3 separate regions of the Homo sapiens genome follow, and regions 2 and 3 are each linked to region 1. Evidence: promoter capture Hi-C in human tissues and cell types (Jung and others, 2019). All regions are on one chromosome and are shown on one strand. Each heading gives the region's core, a stretch centred on a gene start or on the middle of the fragment in contact. The rest is flanking DNA. Distances are from core to core; before and after follow the strand shown.

Evidence for each region. Contacts are between HindIII fragments. The study calls those that stand out against the background at their distance.
Region 2: the fragment with the promoter of CSDC2 here is called in contact with a fragment that was not itself captured in region 1 in 1 of the 25 tissues and cell types used here (heart left ventricle).
Region 3: the fragment with the promoter of ACO2 here is called in contact with a fragment that was not itself captured in region 1 in 1 of the 25 tissues and cell types used here (IMR-90 fibroblasts).

Annotation. Positions count from the first base shown.
Region 1 is chr22:41,184,293-41,186,887 of GRCh38, reverse strand. EP300-AS1 (EP300 antisense RNA 1) reads left to right here. Exons shown (of 3, transcript NR_110514.1): 3 at 565-1,674. Among named protein-coding and RNA genes, the nearest start is that of EP300-AS1, 12 kb to the left of the region's middle. RefSeq lists an enhancer at 1,590-2,389. The HindIII fragment of the contact is 8,621 bases long and covers 1-2,595 here.
Region 2 is chr22:41,559,734-41,562,328 of GRCh38, reverse strand. It overlaps CSDC2 (cold shock domain containing C2), which reads right to left and starts at 1,319. Exons shown (of 4, transcript NM_014460.4): 1 at 1,146-1,319. LOC105373044 (a long non-coding RNA gene) reads left to right here and starts at 1,446. Exons shown (of 2, transcript NR_134631.1): 1 at 1,446-1,609. The HindIII fragment of the contact is 6,219 bases long and covers 152-2,595 here.
Region 3 is chr22:41,467,829-41,470,423 of GRCh38, reverse strand. It overlaps ACO2 (aconitase 2), which reads right to left and starts at 1,307. Exons shown (of 18, transcript NM_001098.3): 1 at 1,242-1,307. The coding sequence starts at 1,277. It overlaps PHF5A (PHD finger protein 5A), which reads left to right and starts at 1,732. Exons shown (of 4, transcript NM_032758.4): 1 at 1,732-1,822; 2 at 2,277-2,300. The coding sequence starts at 1,771. RefSeq lists enhancers at 640-1,201, 1,202-1,763, 1,333-2,002. The HindIII fragment of the contact is 2,873 bases long and covers 877-2,595 here.

The DNA.
Region 1 (2,595 bases), core at 55-2,554:
CGTGAGCCACCGTGCCTGGCCTTTTTTTTTTTTTTTTTTTTGATACTGAGTCATGCTCTTGTCACCCAGGCTGGAGTACAATGGCGCGATATTGGCTCACTGCAACCTTTGCCTCCCGGGTTTAAGCAATTCTGCTGCCTCAGTTTCCTGAGTAGCTGGGATTACAGGCACCTGCCACTGTGCCTGGCTAATTTTTTTTTTTTTTTTAGTTGAGACAGGGGTTTCACCATGTTAGCCAGGCTGGTCTCAAACTCCTGACCTCAGGTGATCTGCCCGCCTCAGCTTCCCAAAATGCTGGGATTACAGGCATGAGCCACTGTGCCCGGCCGAAATTTTTAAGTATAGTCTAGATACAGAAATATGTGATCTGCAAATATATGCTCCCATTCTGTATATCTTTTTACTTCTTTGGTCATGTCCTCTGATGCATGAAAGTTTTGAGGTCTAATTTGTTTTTTCTTTGGTTGCTTGTGCTTTTTAGGTGTTATATCTAAGAAACCATTGCCTATTCCAAGATCATGAAAATTTATAACTATATTTTCTTTTTTTTTCTTTCTTTCTTAGATGGAGTTTCACTCTTGTCACCCAGGCTGGAGTGCAATAGAGCGATCATGGCTCACTGCAACCTCTGCCCCCCGGGTTCAAGCGATTCTCCTGCCTCAGCCTCTCAAGTAGCTGGGATTACAAGTGCCCACCACCACGCCCAGCTAATTTTTGTATTTTTAGTAAAGATGGGGTTTCACCACATTGGCCAGGCTGGTCTCTAACTCCTGACCTCACGTGATTCATCCATCTCAGCCTCCCAAAGTGCTGGGATTACAGGCATGAGCCACTGTGCCTGGCCTATACTTATATTTTCTTCTGTGATTTTAATATTTTAGTGTTTATGTTTTGGTCTATGATCCATTTTGAGTAAATTTTTATATTTGGTATAAGGTAGGGGTCCAACTTTATTTATTTTTGAGATGGAGGCTTACTCTATTGCCCAGGCAGGCATGCAATGGTGCGATCCAGCTCACTGCAACCTCTGTGTCCCAGGCTCAAGTGATTCTCCCACCTCAGCCATCTGAGTAGCTCGGATTACAGGCCCCATCACTATGGTAATTTTTAAATTTTTAGTAGAGACGGGGTTTCACCATGTTGGCCAGGCTGGTCTCGAACTCATGACCTCAAGTGATCTGCCCGCCTCTGCCCTACAAAGTGCTGGGATTACAGGCGTGAGCCACCGTGCCTGGCCTCCAGCTTTATTCTTTTTTTTTTTTTTTTTTTGAGACAGAGTCTTGTTCTGTCACCCAGGCTGGAGTGCTGGAGTGCAGTGGCGCGATCTCGGCTCACTGCAAGCTCCGCCTCCTGGGTTCACGCCATTCTCCTGCCTCAGCCTCCCGAGTAGCTGGGACTACAGGCGCCTGCCACCACGCCTGGCTAATTTTTTGTATTTTTAGTAGAGATGGGGTTTCTCCATGTTAGCCAGGATGGTCTCGATCTCCTGACCTCGTGGTCTGCCTGCCTCGGCCTCCCAAAAGTGCTGGGATTACAGGCGTGAGCGACCATGCCCGGCCAACTTTATTCTTTTAGATGTGGATGTCTAGTTGTTCCAGAAGTATCTGTTAAAAATGTTACTCTTTCTCCATTGGATTATTTTGGCAACCTTATAAACAATCAATTGACCATAAATGTATGGATTTATTTCTGGATTGTCAGATCTATTCCAGTGATCTAAATGTCTGTCCTTATGCCAGTACCATAGAGTCTTGATTACTATAGCTTCATGGTAAGTTTTCAAATCAAGAAGTGTGAGTGCTCCAAATTTGTTTTTATTTTTCAAGATTATTTTGGCTGTTCTGGCTTCTTTGGATTTTCATATGTATTTTAGGGTCAGCCTTTCAGCTGGGCATGGTGGCTCACGCTTGTAATCCCAGCACTTTGGGAGGAGTTCAAGATTAGCATGACAAAATCCCATCTCTACAAAACAAAAAACAAAACAAAAGAAACATTAGCCAGGCTTGGTGGCATGTGCCTGTGGTCCCAGCTACTCAGGAAGCTGAGTAGCTTCCCGAGGCAGGAAGATCACTTGAGACCAGGAGGTGGAGGTTTCAGTGAGCTGAGATCGTGCCACTGTACTCCAGCCTGGGTAATGGAGACAGACCCTGTCTGAAAACAAAAAAATTTTTTAAATAGGCTTTTGTTTTTTATTTTATTTAATTTTTGACACAGGGTCCACTCTGTAGCTCAGGCTGGAGTGCAGTCGTGTGATCTCAGCTCCCTGCATCCTCCGCCTTTTGGGTTCAAGCAGTCCTCCCGTCTCAGCCTCCCGAGTAGCTGGGACTTACAGGCGTGTGTCACCACACCCAGCTAATTTTTGTATTTTTAGTAGAGGTGACCATATTGGCCAGGCTGGTCTTGAACTGACTTCAGGTGATCTTCCTGCCTCAGCCTCCCAAACCCAAAGTGCTGGGATTACAGGTGTGAGCCACTGTGCTCAGCCTGTTAATTTTTTTTTTTTTTTTTTTTTTGAGACGGAGTCTCACTCTGTCACCTAGGTTGGAATGCAGTGGTGCCATCTTGGCCTCACTGCAACCTCCACCTCCCAGGTCC
Region 2 (2,595 bases), core at 70-2,569, 380 kb before region 1:
CGGCAGGGCAAAGCTGGGAGGAGGAAACATTCAGAATTTGGAGGGTCCAGAGGACTCTGGGATGGAGTCAGGTTTGGGAAACCAGTTCCCCATCCCCCAGAAAGCTGGAGACCCCCTTTCCCAGGGAGAGGCCCCTGCCGGATCACAGCCAGGCAGCATGATGCCAGGCTCTCAGAGAGGTTGCCCACCCCCCACTGGGCATACTTCCTCCTCTCCTACCCCAGCCCCAGTGGATGCAGCAGTTCACACTCTGTATTTATTATTGTTCTCGCTCTGTGTCCCCCTCCCCTCTCCCTGGGAAGAGCCTGCAGGCTGGCAGCTTGGCAGGAACCTGCTGTCTCCTTGTGGGTGCCAGCGTCGCCCCTTATCTCCGCCTGGACTCCTTGTGCCAGGGTCAGGCCATTCATGGGCTTGGCACCAGCCAAGGCCACCCTAAGTCCCTGTATCCCAAGATAGAGGCCTGGCAGGCCCTGACTTATCACCCCTGCCCTCCGGGGGCTGTGCCCTGGCAAGGGTGGAGGTCAGAGCAGACCAGCAGGCAGGCAAGAAGCAAGGGCTCGGGGTGGGGTGGTACCTGGGGGAAGAGAATAACCACACGGAGCCACCTCTCTAAGCCAACTAACACAATTATCCCCATCACACTGGGGAAAAAATAGAGTCAGGATAAGACAGCTGCTCCAGGTCCAACTGTCTGCCTTTCCCAGCCGGTCCCTTCCCAGCCCAACATTCCAGGGGAAGGACCAGCAAGGGTCCCTGCTGCACTCTGCTTTCAGCAACTGGAAGCGGCACTGGGGTTTCTCTGGTCAAGGCGGTCCTCTCTCCCGCTGCTTCCCAGACAGGAGGCTGCGGCTTGGCAGGTATCTGCTGCTCTCTGCCTCCTGAGCCAGACGCAGGTCCCAGACACAGACACAGACACAGACACAGACATGCTCCCACGGGAGCCACACGGCCTCACCTCATTTGGGGGTCACGGGGAGAGAATGAGGGAGGGAGAGACAGGTGGTATCCTCTATACCCCCAACACCCTATCTGTAAGCTGAACTGGGCTGATCCAGCCCCCACCTTCACGTTGTACCTCTCTCCTTCGGCCTGGCCAAAGCCACAGTTTCTGGCACAGTGTCCTCAGGCCCCATCTAGCCCCTCACCTCTCCTGGGCAGCTGGGGTCCAGGCACTGCCTCCTGCGGCGTCCGCGCTCTGTCTCTCTCTGGCTCGTGGAGCTGGCAGGCAGGGGATGGGTCTGGAAGATGTGTGTGTGTGTGTGTGTGTGTGTGTGTGTGTGTGTCTGTGTGTGCTCGCGCGGGCGGTACCTCAGCCCCTCACTCACTCACACGCCTTCCAGCTGACGTCAGGGAGAGCAGGAGGGAGGGATGAGAATTTGTACTCCCTGCTTAAAGGGACACCAGGCTCTGTGGCTCATGGCCCAGACATCACCTCCTGAGTCAGGCACTGCCAGGTGAGAGGCTCAGCTGCGTCTCTCGGGGGCCTTAAAGCTTCTTTTTTTGGAAAGTGGCTTTTATGGTCGGGCCACGGTATAATTTGCCCTGCCCAGTGAGGGCAGCTGCTGAGGAATGCAGGGGAGGAAGAACCTGAGACAGCGCCACGTTCCTGGTAATTAGAGAGCAAGTGGGGTGGTGAGTTTGAGTGTGAGTGTGTGAGTGCACACTGGGGGGCCCCTCGGGGTGGGTGGGCATGAGTGGGGGTGAGTCTGGGAGAATGGAGGTCAGAGCCAAGAGGAGCCCCCCAGAGGGGTCGAGACAAGCCAGGTTCCCAGGGACACCCAGACACTCGTCTCCCCTCCGGACGCTCAGTGGTCCTGCCCTCTGCTAGTACAGACACTGACACGGCTCATCTCTGTCTACCCCTTGTAATATTTCCATGGAATTGAATTGACGAGGACCCCAAGGAAGTGATCGGCTTGAAGGTGCACAGGTGAACACCCCACAGCCTGGGAGGCTCTGAGTAGAGAAGTAGAGAGGGCTGATTGAATTCAGGCACCCAGCCTGTTCTACACCACACGCCCTGGCTTCGAAGTGCTCCGCACTGTCAAGCTGTGTGACCTTGGGCCAGCCCCTGAGGGCCTTTGGAGGTTGAGTGTGTGATGTTCCTAAACCCAGGGCCAGCTGGAGGAGGCCTCCACAAAGGTGCTTCTCTTCGTTCTTCCCATTCCTTCTCAGCCTCAGCTTGGAAAGAAGGAAGCCTTTCCCTGGTGTCTCCTGGTACTACTGAGGCAGGCTGGCATTTTCAAAAGGAGTCTTTTTAAAATAAAAAGGAGGTGGGAGTTAAAAGGGAAACCGCAGAGAAAAATACAAGTAACTAATACAAATAGCTAAGACGCCACAAGAGCTTGCTCTGTTTCAGGCAGCAAGCTTTGCCCTCATTGAAACCTCACAACAATTTAATAATTTATTTTTATCATCCCTACTTTACCGGTGAGGAATTAGAGGCTCAGGGAGGAGGAAGGACTTGACTTGCCTATATTCTTCCAACTGGCTAGAGAGGTACTGGAACCCAGGAGCACCCAGTGTCACCACACGCCCCTGCCCTTCCAGAACCTCTCAGGACAATCAGGCTCAGACAGTCTGGGTTTCTGGTTC
Region 3 (2,595 bases), core at 58-2,557, 280 kb before region 1:
TCAATTTAAGCAATGTGATGAAAAATAAGTTCAAGTTTAAATTTAAGCAATGTGATGAAAAATAAGTTCAAGTACCACAAGCTTCCTGAGAGTACAACGCATAACAACTCGTAAAATTCTATTATCAAAGTTGCGCCACTTGATCCAAAAGGAATTCACAAAGTTAAATGTGAAAGGTTGACAGAGAATGTCTACAGATGCTTGCTTGATTTTTATTAACAAAGTACACATTTGACATTGAACCTCTGAGTATAACACCTTCCCAGGGCTGTCAAGTTAGAAGTGAAAAAATCATCTGGCAGTCAGTCAGCTTTCTAGATAGCTCCTAACAGGGGAGTCAAGGTCAAACTGGAGTCTCCTTATCCTCCCATATTTGACAAGCAACTTATTGTGAGGCTCAAAATATTCGTACTGCATTCTGACAAACAGAAATAATTGCACCGTGGTTCATAAAGTTCTGTGAGGGCAGGCTGACATAAACAAGAACTGAGTGGTGGTAGGGCCCATGCTTCTGCCACAGCACTTCGGTGACACTCTTGAGAATCAGAACTTTCACCTACTTTCTACCAGCTTTATCATCTATCAAATGAGAAAAACCACCTCATTCCTACGATTACAGGAATCAAATAATATTATGAAGAATTAAAACAGGCCTCAAATCTTGTGCAAAGGTGAGAGACTATTATTATATTATTTACTACGTATGGGCCCAGAAGACCGCCCCCCTCCCCGACATTCCACGTTCCGCAGGGTCCTCAAAAGGTGGTACAGGGTCCTAGTTTCTTCTCCAGACTCCAGGCCTGGCAACCGTAGATGCTGTCATGCCTCTGTTGCTAAGAGATGGGAAGTGAGGCCTCAGGAACTGGGCCTAGAAGACTCAACAACGACCGCGCCCCCTAGTCACCTTGTCCTCACCTTGAGGAATGGAAACACACCCCACGGGAGCAGGCAATGCTGTCCTCAAAAAGAAGAAAGAGGTGCCTCCGCTCTTCACCCGGCCGCCGCTGCTTGGGCCCACGCTTCTTGCGAGGCAGGGACAGGGCCAGGAAAGCTGACTGTGCCGGGGACGCCTTGACCTAGGGCACCAGAGAAGCGGGCACGGGTGCCGGGCCCACAACCGGGACAGGTACACGAGAAGTTGGCCCCAGGTTGGGCCCGCCTCGCCCTGCCTCGCCCACAGCCGCCGGCACAGTAGGAGGCACCCCGCCCCCGTGAACCCAGAGGTCCCTGAGCTCGCTCACCTGCAGCCGAGTCACCAGTAGGCTGTAGGGCGCCATTTTGTGCACTGACAAAGATGAGGTCGCATTAAAGTGACGTCCCACACGGCGCCTTTAAAGCCTTTGGGCAGGGGCGTGCCCGGAAGAGTGGGGCGTCACGGTGAAGGCGAGGCCTCCCTAGAGGCGCCAGAACCCTGTGAACGCAATGGGCGGAGCTCACGTGCAACGAACAGACACGCAAGAGGAAATCGGACTGCCCAAAGACACTTGCAGAAATAGATACCAAGCACAAAGATGTTTTACCCAAGAACAAATTTTAGTTATCTCCGCCATCCAAATCTGGGAGAGTTTTTAAGAGTTTCATGCACCTGCCAGGACCTGGCCGCCCAGCAGCGACAAAAACTCGCGCGAGAGCAAGACGGGCCTGGTGCAAGGATTGTAAACTGACGGAAGCTTAGAGAACCAATCACAGCGACGTGGAGGCAGGAACAATGGGGGTTAAAGGTCGGACGGAAGTTCCCGAAGCTTCCGGTGGCCGGCTTAGTTAGGAGCTATGGCTAAACATCATCCTGATTTGATCTTTTGCCGCAAGCAGGCTGGTGTTGGTGAGACTGCGCCCTACCCCTGGCTGTCTGGGCAGGGGTGGTATTAGGAGCTGGGGGGTCGGGGGTTCCCGTCTCTTCCTTAGGGGCTTGCCTCGCAGGCGCCACGTTTCCCGCCTCTCAGGCGCGGGGTGTTGTAGGAGCGCGCAGGTTTGTGGCCTCTGATGAGAAGAGGGCGGGGGTGCGCGTGCTGGGAGCCCCAGGCAGGTATCGGGGGGTGGGGTCTGAACCAGGTCCAGAGAAACTCTGAGCTTGCCCAGGGCGTTGGAGGAGATTCAGGAGGGTGCTTGGATGTAGGTTTGGTTCATATGGAAATTTGTAATGATAAAATGGCTATCCGCAGGTCTCACTCACTGCAGTCCTTACTCATGTCCCTACCCCCAGCTCGAGGATGTACTTCTCCTCTTTCTCAAAACCTTTATTCTAATTGTACTTTTTACCATCTTTCATCTTGCAGCCATCGGAAGACTGTGTGAAAAATGTGAGTGGAACACACCGTCCCAACAACCCACCCTTCCCACTCCCAGTTTTCTGTGGAACCAGCAAAAGTGCCACAAAGAGGGCTTTGAGTAGATGTGCCTGGAAGTATGTGAACACTGAATGCTGCACTTTAGCCAAAGGCCCCTCTAACTCCCCACTGCCGCTTGCACATTTAACGCTGTATCTCTCTAGTTTTCAACGGGAAGAATCGCCAGAGTAGCATGACCCCTCCCCAACACACAGCACTTTGCCAGCAATTATACAGGCTTATCATCTCCGAGGTGCTTTTCTAAGCT